Linked DNA regions of Homo sapiens: all the other regions are linked to region 2. Evidence: promoter capture Hi-C in 16 types of primary human blood cells and fetal thymus (Javierre and others, 2016). All regions are on one chromosome and are shown on one strand. The core of a region is centred on a gene start or on the middle of the fragment in contact, and the rest is flanking DNA. Distances in the headings are between cores, read along the strand shown. Region 1 overlaps LOC101929268 (a long non-coding RNA gene). Region 2 holds the start of SNAI2 (snail family transcriptional repressor 2). Region 3 overlaps LOC101929268 (a long non-coding RNA gene). Region 4 overlaps CLXN (calaxin).

Region 1 (3,433 bases), core at 6-2,505, 240 kb before region 2:
TACTCCCCTCTCAGTGACCTGAGTAGTTGGGACCACAGTCATGCACCACCATTCCTAGCTAATTTTTATTTATTTATTTGTTTAATTTTTTTTTAGAGATGGAAGATTCTTAAGATAATACTTCAGAAGTCTTAACAAAGCCTAGGAAAAGAGCCAAACAATTTATTTGGGACCCGAGACTCCGTGAATTCATAAAAGGTCAAGTGCCAGTGTGAAACTTAAGAAAACATCTTCCTTTGTCCGGGCATAGTGTCTCATGCCTGTAATCCCAGCACTTCGGGAGGCTGAGGCAGGCGGATCACCTGAGGTCAGGAGTTTGAGACCAGTCTGGCCAATATGTTGAAACCCTGTCTCTACTAAAAATACAAAAAGATAGCCGGGCATGGTGGCGGGCACCTGAAATCCCAGCTACTTGGGAGGCTGAGGCAGGAGAATCGCTTGAACCTTGGAGGTGGAGGTTGCAGTGAGCCGAGATCATGTCACTGCACTCCAGCCTGAGCAACAAAAGTAAAACTCCATGAAAGAAAGGAAAAGAAAAGAAAAGAAAAGAAAAAAGAAAAGAAAGAAAGAATCTCCCTTCTGTTCTCAGTCATGGAATCCTATTTGATCCTAAGCTAATGTCACTCTCCAAATCGCCACATTATGTCTACATAGGTAGAAACAATATTTATCAAAGGGAAAATTTCTAAGAATCATTTGCTACAATCATAAAACCATTTGCTGTTTATTCTATTTTGTGAGAAACTGGATTTAAGCAAGGTATAGTCAACTGATTTAAATCACTAAGAAAGAAAGATATTTGCTGTTAAAATGGACACTTCAATCCTAGCTGAGTCCACAGTATAAAAAAGTAAGAGGCAAAAGCCAAACTTTGTGGGTTAAACATAGTAAGCTTGGGTTTCCAGCCTTGCCCTTGGATGCTTTGGCTTCAGGTGAGATCTGAGGAAGTACAGGATGAGGGCTGAACACACTGCTTTCATTACAGACACACTTTTCCCTCAGTGGCATAGTGAGGGCTGGGGCTGGGGCGGGCATAGAAACCATGCTGAATCCAAAATAAATCAGGAGTAAAATTCAAAGTTCCCTTTTGGGGTGGGGTATAATAGATTGGAATATTTTTAAAGAAAATTGAATACCTTGAAACATGCTTCTGTTTTTGTGTGTGTGTGTGTGATGGAGTATCACTCTTGTTGCCCTGGCTGGAGGGCAGTGGTGCGATCTCAGCTCACTGCAACCTCCGCCTCCTGGGTTCAAGTGATTCTCCTGTCTCAGCCTCCCAAGTAGCTGGGACTACAGGCACCCACCACCACACCTGGCTAATTTTTGTATTTTTTGTAGAGACGTGGTTTCTCTATGTTGGCCAGGCTGGTCTGGAACTCCTGACCTCAGGTGATCCACCTGCCTCGGCCTCCCAAAGTGCTGGGATTACAGGCCTGAGCCACCGCACCCAGCCAAAACACGCTTCTTATCTGATCAGGAGCAGTACTTTCTGGGCTATGCGTTGCTGATGAATTGTATGTTTTCGTTTTGTCTGGAGACAAGTGAAGGATCCGTGGGGTTTTCAGGTGGCATACCTGCCCTTCCACCTCTTCCTCTGGGCTTGCCCCCTCCTATTCCAGAAGCTTCCTTTACCATCTTCACTCTCATCTTCACTTCTCAGCATCATTTTAAGGACCTATAGCCAGCAAGATACATAAAATCATTTAGACGATTACTTACAAATGAGCGCAACAGGCAGACGAAGCAAGAGGGTGGCAGCACGCAGCCCAGGCTGGGCCCAGGGTCTCAGAGTCTTGGGTCTTCACAACTCACCTGTGGTTTTCTCCCACAGGGTTGTAGGCCTGGCATGCAAAGACATCTAATTGTGTGCAAAACCTACAAACACCGTGTTGATTTGGGTCACACACACAGAAAGCACCGTTACTACATTTGTTTTGTAATTAATAATGGCTTGAAAAATTTGTTTCTCATTCTTAATGAATTTTTCTTTGAGGGACATTTGAAATCTATTATTTCAAGCTTAAGTCTTGCAAATTTATATTAGCTCTTTGCAGCAATACTTTTCTACCATATTAACATAACACACACACCCTTCTCAGCAGAGCAGTCACAGAACACATATTTCCTTTCATGAGCCAAAAGATTAACATCGTCTTCAAATAGTTCCTGAACTGATTTTTTTTTCTTGTACTGAAGATGTTGATTAAAATGACAGTACTTTACTCTAGCTACTATTTGTTTCTTTTTCTACCATGCTAGAAGAATGAGCCTTTAATCCTAAAGTTCCCCAGCGCCTCAGGCTATCAATAGTGTGGGAGATCCACTTAAGACTATTTTTTATTGCTTTGTTTCTTCTCACGGTAAACAACAAAGTTGGGGATAGGCTGGCAGTTCATCACTGGGTAAAGTTTTAGTAGCTGCACATCTGTGGATGGCCATGAGTAATCATCTCGCGCTGGTTAGGATTAGGCTGCTGGAGGGGGCGACCCTCAGGCTTTCAAGTACAACGGACGCACCTTGACCTTGGGACGTGGGGGCCTGCACACCTTCCATAGAAGAGCAGGGAGCTTAATAAGGTTTGTTAAATAAGGAATGCAATTTGTAATCACTAGTTGATTCTAACGTATTATAAGACCTGAAATCCTGTTTCCTTTTGAAGACTGCCTCTTTGTAACACCATAAATAAATACGTATATTTCTCTACATGGAAGGCCTCTATGTTCCCTACAAAGTGTGGGAACTTTGTAAAGTGTGATTCCGGGGAAAGTGCTCACAACCCTTGAAGGCCATATGTCCAGCGATGGAGAGCCATGTATGGATTTGCCTCCGGTAAGTGCTTTACTACCAGACCTCTGTGTCACAGTTGTAGGCCCTTTCTACCACAGGATTCCAATATTAATCTTCAAGTTTTAGGAGTTATATGTAAAAACTGGAAAAGGTGATAAAAGAAAATTGTAAGGTAATTTATTTGAATATTGGAATTGGACATAAGTTGAGCTAATGTGACTGTTTTAACCTAAAGAAGAAAAGGTTACATTTGTTTTCAAATATTTGGATGACAAAATAATGTAGCATTTTATAGAAAACAGATTAAAGAGATAGAAGAACCAATCAAAGTTTGAAATGGATCATGTAACAAGTCCTGTGGATGCTTTAACCTTGAAAATCAGAAACAAGATTTGCAATAGTTTGATCCTGCCAAGGCCCTTTCAGTACTAGAATTTTAGGGCAGTTTTGGCTAAATATTTTCTCCAAAAGAACAAATATTGCTTTCTGACATTAGGATCACACAGGAGATCATAACTATTTGGTAGTTTGAAGACATAATCATTGTTACGTTAGTAAAAATGGAAAAGTACATATTTCTTACAAAAATCCTACAACTTGGAGAACTGCCAAGTACCTGTTGGCCGGGAAGGGAAGCTGATCTGAC
Region 2 (3,404 bases), core at 749-3,248:
AAGCAAGAGAGGCAAAGTAAATTTAGTTTCAACTATCCAAGTCACCCACGGGTGACAAATATCAGAGCAAGAATGTAACTAACAGAAAACTGTAGGAAAAGCCTTCATCTATTAACCAAATCAATTGATTAAGATAGCAACATTTGTATTTGCTGATTACTGGGGGCAGTTTCACAGAACACACATTCAAGCACATCTTTCCTGATTTTCTAACTGATCTTTGAGACCAAACCTTCTGAATCTACTTTCCAAAGTCTACATGCTGTTTGCAGTCCCTGGAGCAGAGGTTGTTAGCAAGAAATGGAGCACTTTGTGCCCTAACAACTTTTTGAGTAGTCAGGAAGTAGCTATCAATGACTGTCCATCATTAAAAGCACTATGTCACAACTTCATGCAAATCCAACAGCCAGCCCAGGGCTTCATTGTATCTCAGAGTAACATTCCTGCCTATGGTTTTTCTCTTACCCGTGTGAGTTCTAATGTGTCCTTGAAGCAACCAGGGTCTGGAAAACGCCTTGCCGCAGATCTTGCAAACACAAGGTAATGTGTGGGTCCGAATATGCATCTTCAGGGCGCCCAGGCTCACATATTCCTTGTCACAGTATTTACAGCTGAAAGATTTTCTAGACTGGGCATCGCAGTGCAGCTGCTTATGTTTGGCCAGCCCAGAAAAAGTTGAATAGGTCTTATTGCATAAATTGCACTGAAACTTTTCAGCTTCAATGGCATGGGGGTCTGAAAGCTTGGACTGTAGTCTTTCCTCTTCATCACTAATGGGGCTTTCTGAGCCACTGTGGTCCTTGGAGGAGGTGTCAGATGGAGGAGGGGGACTCACTCGCCCCAAAGATGAGGAGTATCCGGAAAGAGGAGAGAGGCCATTGGGTAGCTGGGCGTGGAATGGAGCAGCGGTAGTCCACACAGTGATGGGGCTGTATGCTCCTGAGCTGAGGATCTCTGGTTGTGGTATGACAGGCATGGAGTAACTCTCATAGAGATACGGGGAAATAATCACTGGGAAAGAAAAGGGAGGGAGAGAAGATTAAGGCAAAAATAATTAAAAATAAATCCACACGCAAGTATACACACACTGGAAAGATATTTAGCAACACACACGTGATTTTCTTAGGAAGAAGATAGACCCATTTAGGAGGGCATACACACTGGTAAAATGTTTCATTTCCACCCTGGCACCTACGGAGTTACTGTACTTAATGCACACATAGGCTGACAGCTGCACGGAGCTATAGGTGCTCTGAAGTCAGACAGTGCAGCCAAGCCAGTGCCTTCGCCGTCCCCATTGAGGAAGGAGAGCCTCAACATTATTTTTAAACATACAGAAAAGTTGTTTTCCATGTTACGTATGGGCTATTTAGGTGTATTACGACCGTGAGTACAAAGATATGCCTGCATCAAGCCGCCTTCTAAAGGAAAGGAGACTTAGTGCATGAAAAACGCAGTAATTCAATCCTTATGTTGCTCATCTTTCACATACTCATTATGCATGTATACACAGGCTTTAGCAAACGAAGCTGCGAGATTTGAATGAAATGTTCCTTGTTAGTCAAGAATTTTAAAAGTTTTGAATTAAAACGAACCCTAAATGATCAAAAGAATGTAAGCTCCCTTTCAGGACACTGTTAAAAAGGAAAACAGTTGAATCTTTGGCTCTTTTGTAATGGTATTTGAAGGGTAATACGTAGATTCATATTTGCAAAGCTCTAGATACGTAGTTCTAGATATATTTTTCTCTTTTTACCTGTATGTGTGTCCAGTTCGCTGTAGTTTGGCTTTTTGGAGGCGTTGAAATGCTTCTTGACCAGGAAGGAGCGCGGCATCTTGCCAGCGGGTCTGGCGGGCGCCCGGCGCGGATAACGGTCCGGCGGGAGGACACGGCGGTCCCTACAGCATCGCGGCGGGCCAGGCTCGGGCAGGGGCCGTGCTCAGGTGCGGCAGACGGACGGGCCGGCGCCTCTGAAGTCACCCGGCTCCTTTACGAACTGAGCCCGTTTTGGCTGGGAGGGTTTTTTTTTCCTCTCTTTTGCAAGAAAGATCCAATCACAGCTGAGAGGTTCAGATTTCAGCTCCTCCCTCTGGGACAGCTGTGAACAGAGGAAGAATCTGTTGTCAGACTAAATTATTCTGGTTCAAAATGGGCTGTTTTTTGAGATTTCAGTGGAGAGGAAAAAAAGTGTTTAAGTATTTTCAAGAGAGGTAACCTCGCTCGGTGAGCCCCGCCCGCGATCCACGCTCTCTGGGAGCTAGGAGGGGCGCAGGAGCCGGGGTCTCTGCCCTGCCCGCCTGGCTTCCAGATGTGGTGCAGCGCCAGCGCGCGGGGACACAGTGTCCGCCAGGAGAAGGAAGGGCCGCCCTGCACCACACCAGGCCAGCCTCTGGTGTTAATGAGAGCCTATATTTGGAAGTGGCATCTGGAGAGGTTTGCCTTGCACAAAGACCAAATAATTACCTCTTGGCTTTTGAAAAAGGAAGGGGGAAGCGGGAAGACAAAGGCGCCTGTGAGCGCGGAGGACGCTCTCCTGGGACTCTGGCCTGGAGCGGGACTGCAGCCTTGCGTGCGGCGAGGGCGCTGCGCTACTCAGGGCTTCCGCGAAGCCAGGGGCAGCGCGGCCGCGTGCAAATTAAGTACTCATGTCACCGTGTTAGCTATGGTGGCTTGAAAGAAATGCTTTGTAGCCCTCTAAAGGCAGGCTGATCGGAAGAACTGGAAGATTGCAAAGATAAAAAGGAACTCTGGCAGAGAAGGGGGGCAAGAGGTAACTGTCATTTGGAACCACCGGACATTCTCTCACACTTTTGACAAGAGATCTTATCTTTTCATGTATTACAGTGCATCTTTTTTTTTATGGGAAAAAGGGTTGTATGGGTCTTTAGAGACAATTATTTTTATTTCTAATATTCCCCTGCTTTTATGTGGTGCTATTTTCATCAGTATAAAGCCATTAAAATCCATCTCAGTATCTACCAGTTTCCTGTATAATGCTAAAAAAGAAATTGAAGGATATTATTATGAATATAGATTGATTAAAGTTTTAAGAACCCAGTCTAGTAACTGCAAAAACACCTTTATTTTGTGTATGGTCTTCAATCTAAAAATACTTTCAGGTGGTTTATTTTAAATATAAAATTTCAAGCATATTTTAAAGCATCTCTGTCCATTGCAGACTTTTATCCCTATCTTTTGCTAAAAGAATAAGGAAAGAACAAATTCACATGAAGATCACCCTACTCTTGTTTCTAACAGGTGCTGGAGGAAAAAAGTGAAAAAGAAAATAACAGTGGTGATGTCAAGACTTGTCAGAGAAAAGTGCATTGTCAGGTTGCATAACTTCTTAATCTTGGAATGAGAAAACAAGAGTGTATGTGTGTTTGGAGGGTGAGGTGGGGCA
Region 3 (3,377 bases), core at 444-2,943, 230 kb before region 2:
ACTTCTTTCTGTTCTGCTTCCTTGTAAGACATTTGCTACTTGATTATGAATTAGGATGGTCGTGAGTGTTGGGAGTAAAAATGCCTCAGGTGCTCGGTGTGCAGGAAGTGTAGGGTGATGAATAGATAGTGTTCAAAGTGGATGAACTCCAATAATGATCTGCTGGAGGAGATAGAAAGGGGAGCCCTGTCTCTGGAGCAGAGACTTTGCCTCAGACCTGGTCAGTCCCATTGCAGATGTAATCTGGGGCCAGGATTGCGTGTGTGTGGGGCAAGCCCTGTGAGCTGGGGTGGGGCGGCCCCTCCTCCAGCCTGTGCCACCTTGTCACTGCTCTGCAGCAGGCCTGCGCAGGCTCATCTGTGCAGGTGTGGCATGCAGTCAAATTTAAGCAAAACAGGTACCCAGTTTTCTTTTTTTAAAAAAGAGAAATAGCTTTCTCCCTAACTTTTTCTTTTGGTGGGCTACTTGTATTTACAAAATTGGATTTCTCCAGTGGGGTGGGACGCACTGGTCTGTGGTGGCATGGGTGCCGCTGGGTGTTCAGTGTGGGTTCTTGTTGGGCTGCTGGCCTGTTAGGAAGGTTTGGGACTCCAGCAGTTATGCTGCTGGCAGAATCGCCTCTGACTTTGGCTGCAGAAGCAATGGCTGGGCAGAGCAGTTGCTGTCACTTGGCTTTATGATCCCCTGCCAAAAAGACACAGGTAGTCCATGTATAAAACAAACACAGCTAATGAATTCAGGAGGAGACTGGGCCCAGCCCTCCTTGGCACTGTTAAACATGCAGCATCAATCACTGTGAAAAGCTGGCTTGCTCAGTTCCCATGCTATACGCGGGGTTCCCAGATCTCCTCCACTCCAGTGAGTCCTGTAGTTTGCTTTAATTGTTCTGTCTATAGAAAGAATATATAATCCATTTATGGTAATAGGAGGTGAAGCTTGGAATCTTTCACAGGAACAGGTTCCCATTCTAGAACAAGTGACTGCTGGAAAACTATCCTGATGGTTTACCCCTTCATGCCCCTCCCCTCAGCTGGAAACAAAACATCCCATGAAAACAAACAAAATCATCACACATACATACCCACACCTGCACCAGGGACACATGCGGGGCCATGACAACTCTGCAGTGTCTATTTCACGGGGTGGTTGATATATTTCAACAAATTTCGTTAAATTGCTATGGCTTTTAAGGAGATCTGATAAAAAGGAAGTTAGATTATTTAAACTGGCCAAACGTAAGAATTAGCTAAGCCTTTCTAGGAAAAACAGCATAAAAGTGGGGTAAGTGTCAAAGGGAACCAAAACAGTATCGGAGAAAATGCTTTTAAGACATGTTGCACTAATAATACTAAGCATGATACAAAGAATAGCTGAACACTTGATACTGCTCTAAGTACCTAACGTACTGACGGAAAATTACTTACTTGCTCCTCTAGAATCAACATCGTCATCCCAAGTAGGAGACCAGAGTCTGTAATCTCAGAGAGGCTGAGATGCTGCCCTCCAGTGTGATGTGAGAGATGAGTGTTGGGGACATAGCAGATGATAGCCTCGCTTTCCCTATATTTGTAGAAGAGCAATAAAGGCCCATGCATCTCACCAGTGTAGAAGAGGAACTGGAAGGGAGGGAGGGAGGGCCATCCGGCCATGGGGAGCTGCCTGAGCAAGGCTTCCCGCTCTGCCAGGCTAAGGAGGGCAGGCCAGGCAGCTGTCGCTCACATGCTCTGGCCTGCATATTTGGGAGGGGAAGAGCGCCTCCTTGCCAATGTGCTGCAAAGTGCTCAGCCATGAGAATTGCCACAAATCCTGTGGAGCATGCACCTTTGGAAGCATCAGGCTGGAGCTTTGACACACAAAAGAATTTTGGAAAGCCAAGTGGCCCTTGCCAAGGTTTTAGAGCTGGGATTTATCAAAGGCTTACCTGCCACACTAGTCATAAGGAGCTCCAGGTGTCTGGGGCTCACCTGAAGCCACCTGTGATTTCCGTAGGGCCGTGTGGGAGCTATGGGTAAGCGCCTACTCCAGCTCTTGGGTAGGCCTACTTTGATCAAATGTTCTTGCATCGTAAACATTAGTCATAGGAAAGTGAGACTTCTGTGTTCTCTGTAGGTTTGTCTTCTCCTGAGGAAGTGGATGCCATGTGTCACTTTGCAGATGGATCAAGTGCAGGAGGTAAAATAACTCCCTGAGCTTCCCAGATCTTCCATTCATCATTCTTTTTCTTTCCCTTGGAAAACTGATTTGCACAGAAATGAGAAGTTTACTCTCTTGCTTTTGGATCTGTTGCATGATCGCAAAGAAAAGAAATGCCTTACTTGATATTTCGACATTAAACTTTACAATCTGGAGAATTTTTCTTCCAGCACCTCGTCCTGGGTAGTTGAGTATAACGGCCCCCATATTTTGACCAGGAACTGAAATGAACCCCATCCAGGGCTTGCTTGGGTGTGGAAAGCTTTCAGACTCATGGGTGGAGCAGAAATCCTCATGCTGCACTCCCCCATGAAGCAGAAGTCACAATCTGTGTAGAGTCATGGAGAGGAGGAAGTTGAACTTCACTGTGCTCCGAAAATAAGACATTGTGTGGTAGAGTGTGGGCCAGCAGCCTGGGTAAGGCATGGCCCAGGTAGAGAGCTCAGGATGACTAGGTGTCTTCCCTCATTGCCACTAGGAAGTGAGTTCACTCCCAGACTCTCCTAGGACCTCAGTCTTAAGAGCGATCACAGCTGCCTGTTAACCAGCCTGAATGCAAAAAGTGAAAAAGCATTGCCTTCAACTGGAAAAGAAGGGCACCTTTGAAGGAGCTGCTGCAGAGAGGTCATTGGAGGAAATCTCAGCATCCCCCACGCCCTCCCCTCCCTGTGGCTGGAAGCCATGGGGGGGCTTTCATGTTAGGTCAGAGGCTTCCCCACAGCCCCTTTCCCTTGTCTTGGAATGTCTGTGTGAGGGCGTGGCTGGCAGAGTGGCCGGAAGTCCACAGAGTGAGAGGAGTAGGTGCTGGACCTGGCATGCAGACTCTGGGCTGTGACTCAGGCCCAGGCAGGGTGGGTGGGGAAGGGAGTGGTGGGGACATGGGGTCCTGACGGAGGTCGGGAGGCACAGGGTGTGGGTGCTGCTTGTCTCCCCAGCTTCTCCACCGCACCATGTGTCTGGGTCTGTGATTACCGGAGGCGACTCGCAACAGGCCCAGACTCGCCTGTGTGCATAGCACTAAGGGTAATGACAACTCCTCTGTGTGTGCAGGTGCCTGTTGGAGACGCAGAGCTCTGCAGCAGCAGGTGAGCTGATGCTGCAACCTGCTAAACGCCGCTCCTGCGGAGCGCCAGGGCCCAGAGTGCACATGGCTCTCAGGCTCCGTGAAAAGCTTGCAGTGAGCT
Region 4 (3,407 bases), core at 901-3,400, 200 kb before region 2:
AAGGGCTGGGGATAGCAGGGTGGGGCAAAATGGGGGGATGTTGGTAAAAGGCTACAAAATTTCAGTTATGAAAGATGAATAAGTTCTGGAGATGTAATAAACAGCAATGTGACTATAGTTAACAGTATTATATATTTGAAATTTGCTCTAAAGGTGGCTAACACACACAAAAAGAAAATGGTAACTGTGTGAGGTGGTGTATGTGTTAATTAACTTGATTGTGGTGATTATTTCACAATGCATACAAATATAAAAACATCAAGTTGTATACCTTAAATATATACAGTTTTAAATTATCAATTTTCCCTCAATAAAGATAGAAAAGCATTGTGTTGCATTATTTATATTTACTGCAAATAGAAAAATTGTGTCAAAGTCCATCTATGTAAGAATCTAAAATATAAAAAAAACTTGGACAGTAAAATATGTTTTCTTTTATTTCATGGATCTGTTTATTCCATTTATTAGTAACAGTGCATTTTTTCACACAATATTCTATTTTACTTAAACTTAATGCATATGTAGTAAGAAAGATTTACTATCCCAACTAGCCTCTCAGTATTTAGATGAGGATAGAACAGATACGGTGTAACACGCCTCTCCACTGCTTACTGTGTGTACCAAGAAGGCAGAAAGCAGCTCACCCAAGCCTAACCTGGCCCTGTCTTTTTCAGGCTTCTCAGGATGCCCACAGCACATACTGGGGAACTGGATGCAGGGAGAAGCCAGGTCTGTCTTCAGGAGGTCACAGCCAGCAGGGCACAGTTAGGTCGTGCCCTGATAAGGGGGTACACAAGGGGAACTCCAGGCAGTGGGGGGATGGGGACACTATGGTGCACTCAGGCAGTGGCAAGGGGGCAATACGTGGAGTCAGGATGGAGGAACACTGGGTGCCAGGACAGAGGGGGGCTTTGGCAACCATCTGCAATGCATGGGGCAGGGACTATCTGGAAGGACTGCAGGGATACACTGAAAGCTGTGCCAATGCATTAGCCATGAAACCTAAGAAACTCAGTACATGTTCTCCCTCTGCTCACCAAGAGTTTGCATTTATCTTGTGGTACTTTTTGATTTTCAGTCCAATCTACAGTAATTATGGACAGCCCATTGTATGCAGAGGACTAAATGCTATGGCAGACAAAGATGTGGTGGATAAAACCCTTGCCTTCAGGTGCTTACAATCAGTAACGTTATTTAGCCAAAGCCTCAAACAATAATGCAAATCATATTATATTTCAATATAATATGATTTCCATGTATCTTTCATCTCTCTAGATCTCCCTCAATGCCTACCAGAAAGGCGTTTCAATGCTCAATAGAATACTCTTATTCTTTTGATGCCATCTTCATTATTTGTTTCAAAGGAAATCCAGTAGTTTCAATGATTTTTCAGTGTACACCCAGCTTCTTTTTGACATGCAGAATATTTGTATTAACAATTCATAATTATGTAATCTCTCTATTCATTTAATGAACCCAAAGGTTTTATGCCAGTTATGTGCTTCGACAGATAGTCTATGTGATAAAACATCTGTAGAAAAGTTAACTGTCTTGCCAAACCCATCATCTAATAAGGGACTTCTTGTCTTCCATCTATTTTAATTGCATCTTACACTGATGTTAAATGATATATGTAAGTGAACCTCATCTTCACCCTGAAACACACAATTCAACATCATTTTTCTGAACTAAGTAGAAAAAATAAGCAATATGTGTGTGCCTCCTTTTTTACTCACTTGAGACAATATAGACATTTAGTTATTCACATATCATTGAATTCATTTGGATCTTTGAATACTTGAGCTTCAAATTCCATCTGGCTCTGTAAAAAAAGGTACTCAATTTAGTATAAATTTCCAAAAAAGGTAGAACACCACAAAATATTCTGTATGTCTCCTTAGTGTAGAGACAGGATAACTGAGGGTTAGTGGGCATCGAGAACTTCTGGTGTTCAAGCGTTTCACTCACAGATCTCATGACTACACTCAAAACACAGTGCTTGGTTATGTGGCCACAAAGATGAGCAAGACCAATTGACCCAACTCTCCAAAAGTCTCCAGCCTGGTGGCAGAGACTGGCCAGAAACTTGCAAGAATCAGTCAGGGCTGCATGGGCTGTGGTAGGGAAAGGCACATGGTAGACTATGGGAGTCCAGGAGGAACAATCAAGGCACAGCCGGGCCTTGGTTGGGAACGAGGCACTCTCTGGAACAGGAAGGCTGTACTGAGAGCCAAGGGTGAGGGGGATGTGGTTCAGTAAGGTAAGAAGCCAAGAGCATTCAAGGGATTTATTCACAAGGTGGGAGGGTGACCTTGCAATAGCAGATTCAGGGGTAGATAGGAAGAAGTGATAGTAGTTAGATATTAAATCTGGACAATTCTTTCAAGAAGCTAGGTTTTAAGAAGGAAAGCCATTATATAAGAAACAGAAGTAATAAGTGTGAAATTAAGGTAAGTTCTCTCCTTTTCTTTCCTTCTTCCTCTCATTCTTTCATTTTGCTTTTCAGATGGGACAGTTTTGAATCTTTTAAAATTCTAATGGGAGCCAGGCATGGTGGCTCATGCCTGTAATCCCAGCACTTTAGGAAGCCGAGGCAAGCTGATCACTTGAGGTCGGGAGTTCGAGACCAGCCTGACCAACATGGAGAAACCACGTCTCTACTAAAAAATATAAAATTATCCGGGCGTGGTGGCGCATGCCTCTAATCCCAGCTAGTCGGGAGGCTGAGGCAGGAGAATCACTTGAACCTGGGAGGCGGAGGTTGCGGTGAGCCGAGATTGTGCCATTGCACTGCAGCCTGGGCAACAAGAGCAAAACTCCGTCTCAAAAATAAATAAATAAATAAATAAATAAATAAATAAATAATAAAATTCTAATCGGAAGGTTTCACTAGAGAGGGAAGAGATTGAAGATGTGGTATAAAGATAAAGGTAAATGAATGAAATAGCTCCTGAGGAGATGGAGAGATCCAGAGCTCCCCATCAGGCACTTCTGAGACCCACCCACCCACCTCACCATCCATCCACCTCATCCATTAATCCATCCACCCATCCATCTACCCACCCACCTACCTCGCCCATCCACCCACCTCACCCATCCATCCATCCATCCACCCATCCATCTACCCACCCACTCCATCCATCCATCCATCCATCCATCCATCCATCCATCCATCCACCCACCCACCCCATCCACCCATCCATCCACTCATCCATCCATCTATCTACCCACCCTCCCATTCACTTCATCCATCCATCCATCCATCCATCCAACCATCCATCATCTATCTATCCATCCATCCATCCATCCATCCACCCACCTATCCATCCATGTACCTACACAGCCATTCACCTCATCCATCCACCCATCCACCCACTCATCATTTCATCTGCCCATCCATCTATTCA

Evidence for each region. Contacts are between HindIII fragments. The CHiCAGO score rates a contact against its expected background, and 5 or more counts as called.
Region 1: a fragment that was not itself captured here is called in contact with the fragment with the promoter of SNAI2 in region 2 in 1 of 17 cell types (M2 macrophages); the score reaches 5.2 in M2 macrophages.
Region 3: a fragment that was not itself captured here is called in contact with the fragment with the promoter of SNAI2 in region 2 in 3 of 17 cell types (M2 macrophages, M0 macrophages and M1 macrophages); the score reaches 10.1 in M2 macrophages.
Region 4: a fragment that was not itself captured here is called in contact with the fragment with the promoter of SNAI2 in region 2 in 1 of 17 cell types (M2 macrophages); the score reaches 5.2 in M2 macrophages.

Annotation. Positions count from the first base shown.
Region 1 is chr8:48,676,047-48,679,479 of GRCh38, forward strand. The region is part of intron 2 of LOC101929268 (a long non-coding RNA gene); the gene reads left to right. Among named protein-coding and RNA genes, the nearest start is that of LINC02847, 57 kb to the left of the region's middle. The HindIII fragment of the contact is 730 bases long and covers 891-1,620 here.
Region 2 is chr8:48,919,431-48,922,834 of GRCh38, forward strand. It overlaps SNAI2 (snail family transcriptional repressor 2), which reads right to left and starts at 1,999. Exons shown (of 3, transcript NM_003068.5): 1 at 1,757-1,999; 2 at 466-1,011. The coding sequence starts at 1,835. LOC107986942 (a long non-coding RNA gene) reads left to right here and starts at 2,127. Exons shown (of 4, transcript XR_001745895.3): 1 at 2,127-2,771; 2 at 3,260-3,334. RefSeq lists an enhancer at 2,110-2,189. The HindIII fragment of the contact is 2,868 bases long and covers 741-3,404 here.
Region 3 is chr8:48,693,315-48,696,691 of GRCh38, forward strand. LOC101929268 (a long non-coding RNA gene) reads left to right here. Exons shown (of 4, transcript NR_105002.1): 3 at 2,110-2,172; 4 at 3,244-3,377. Among named protein-coding and RNA genes, the nearest start is that of CLXN, 40 kb to the right of the region's middle. RefSeq lists an enhancer at 3,110-3,377. The HindIII fragment of the contact is 1,520 bases long and covers 934-2,453 here.
Region 4 is chr8:48,722,980-48,726,386 of GRCh38, forward strand. CLXN (calaxin) reads right to left here. Exons shown (of 6, transcript NM_024593.4): 6 at 412-1,822. The coding sequence ends at 1,763. Among named protein-coding and RNA genes, the nearest start is that of CLXN, 11 kb to the right of the region's middle. The HindIII fragment of the contact is 6,529 bases long and covers 1-3,407 here.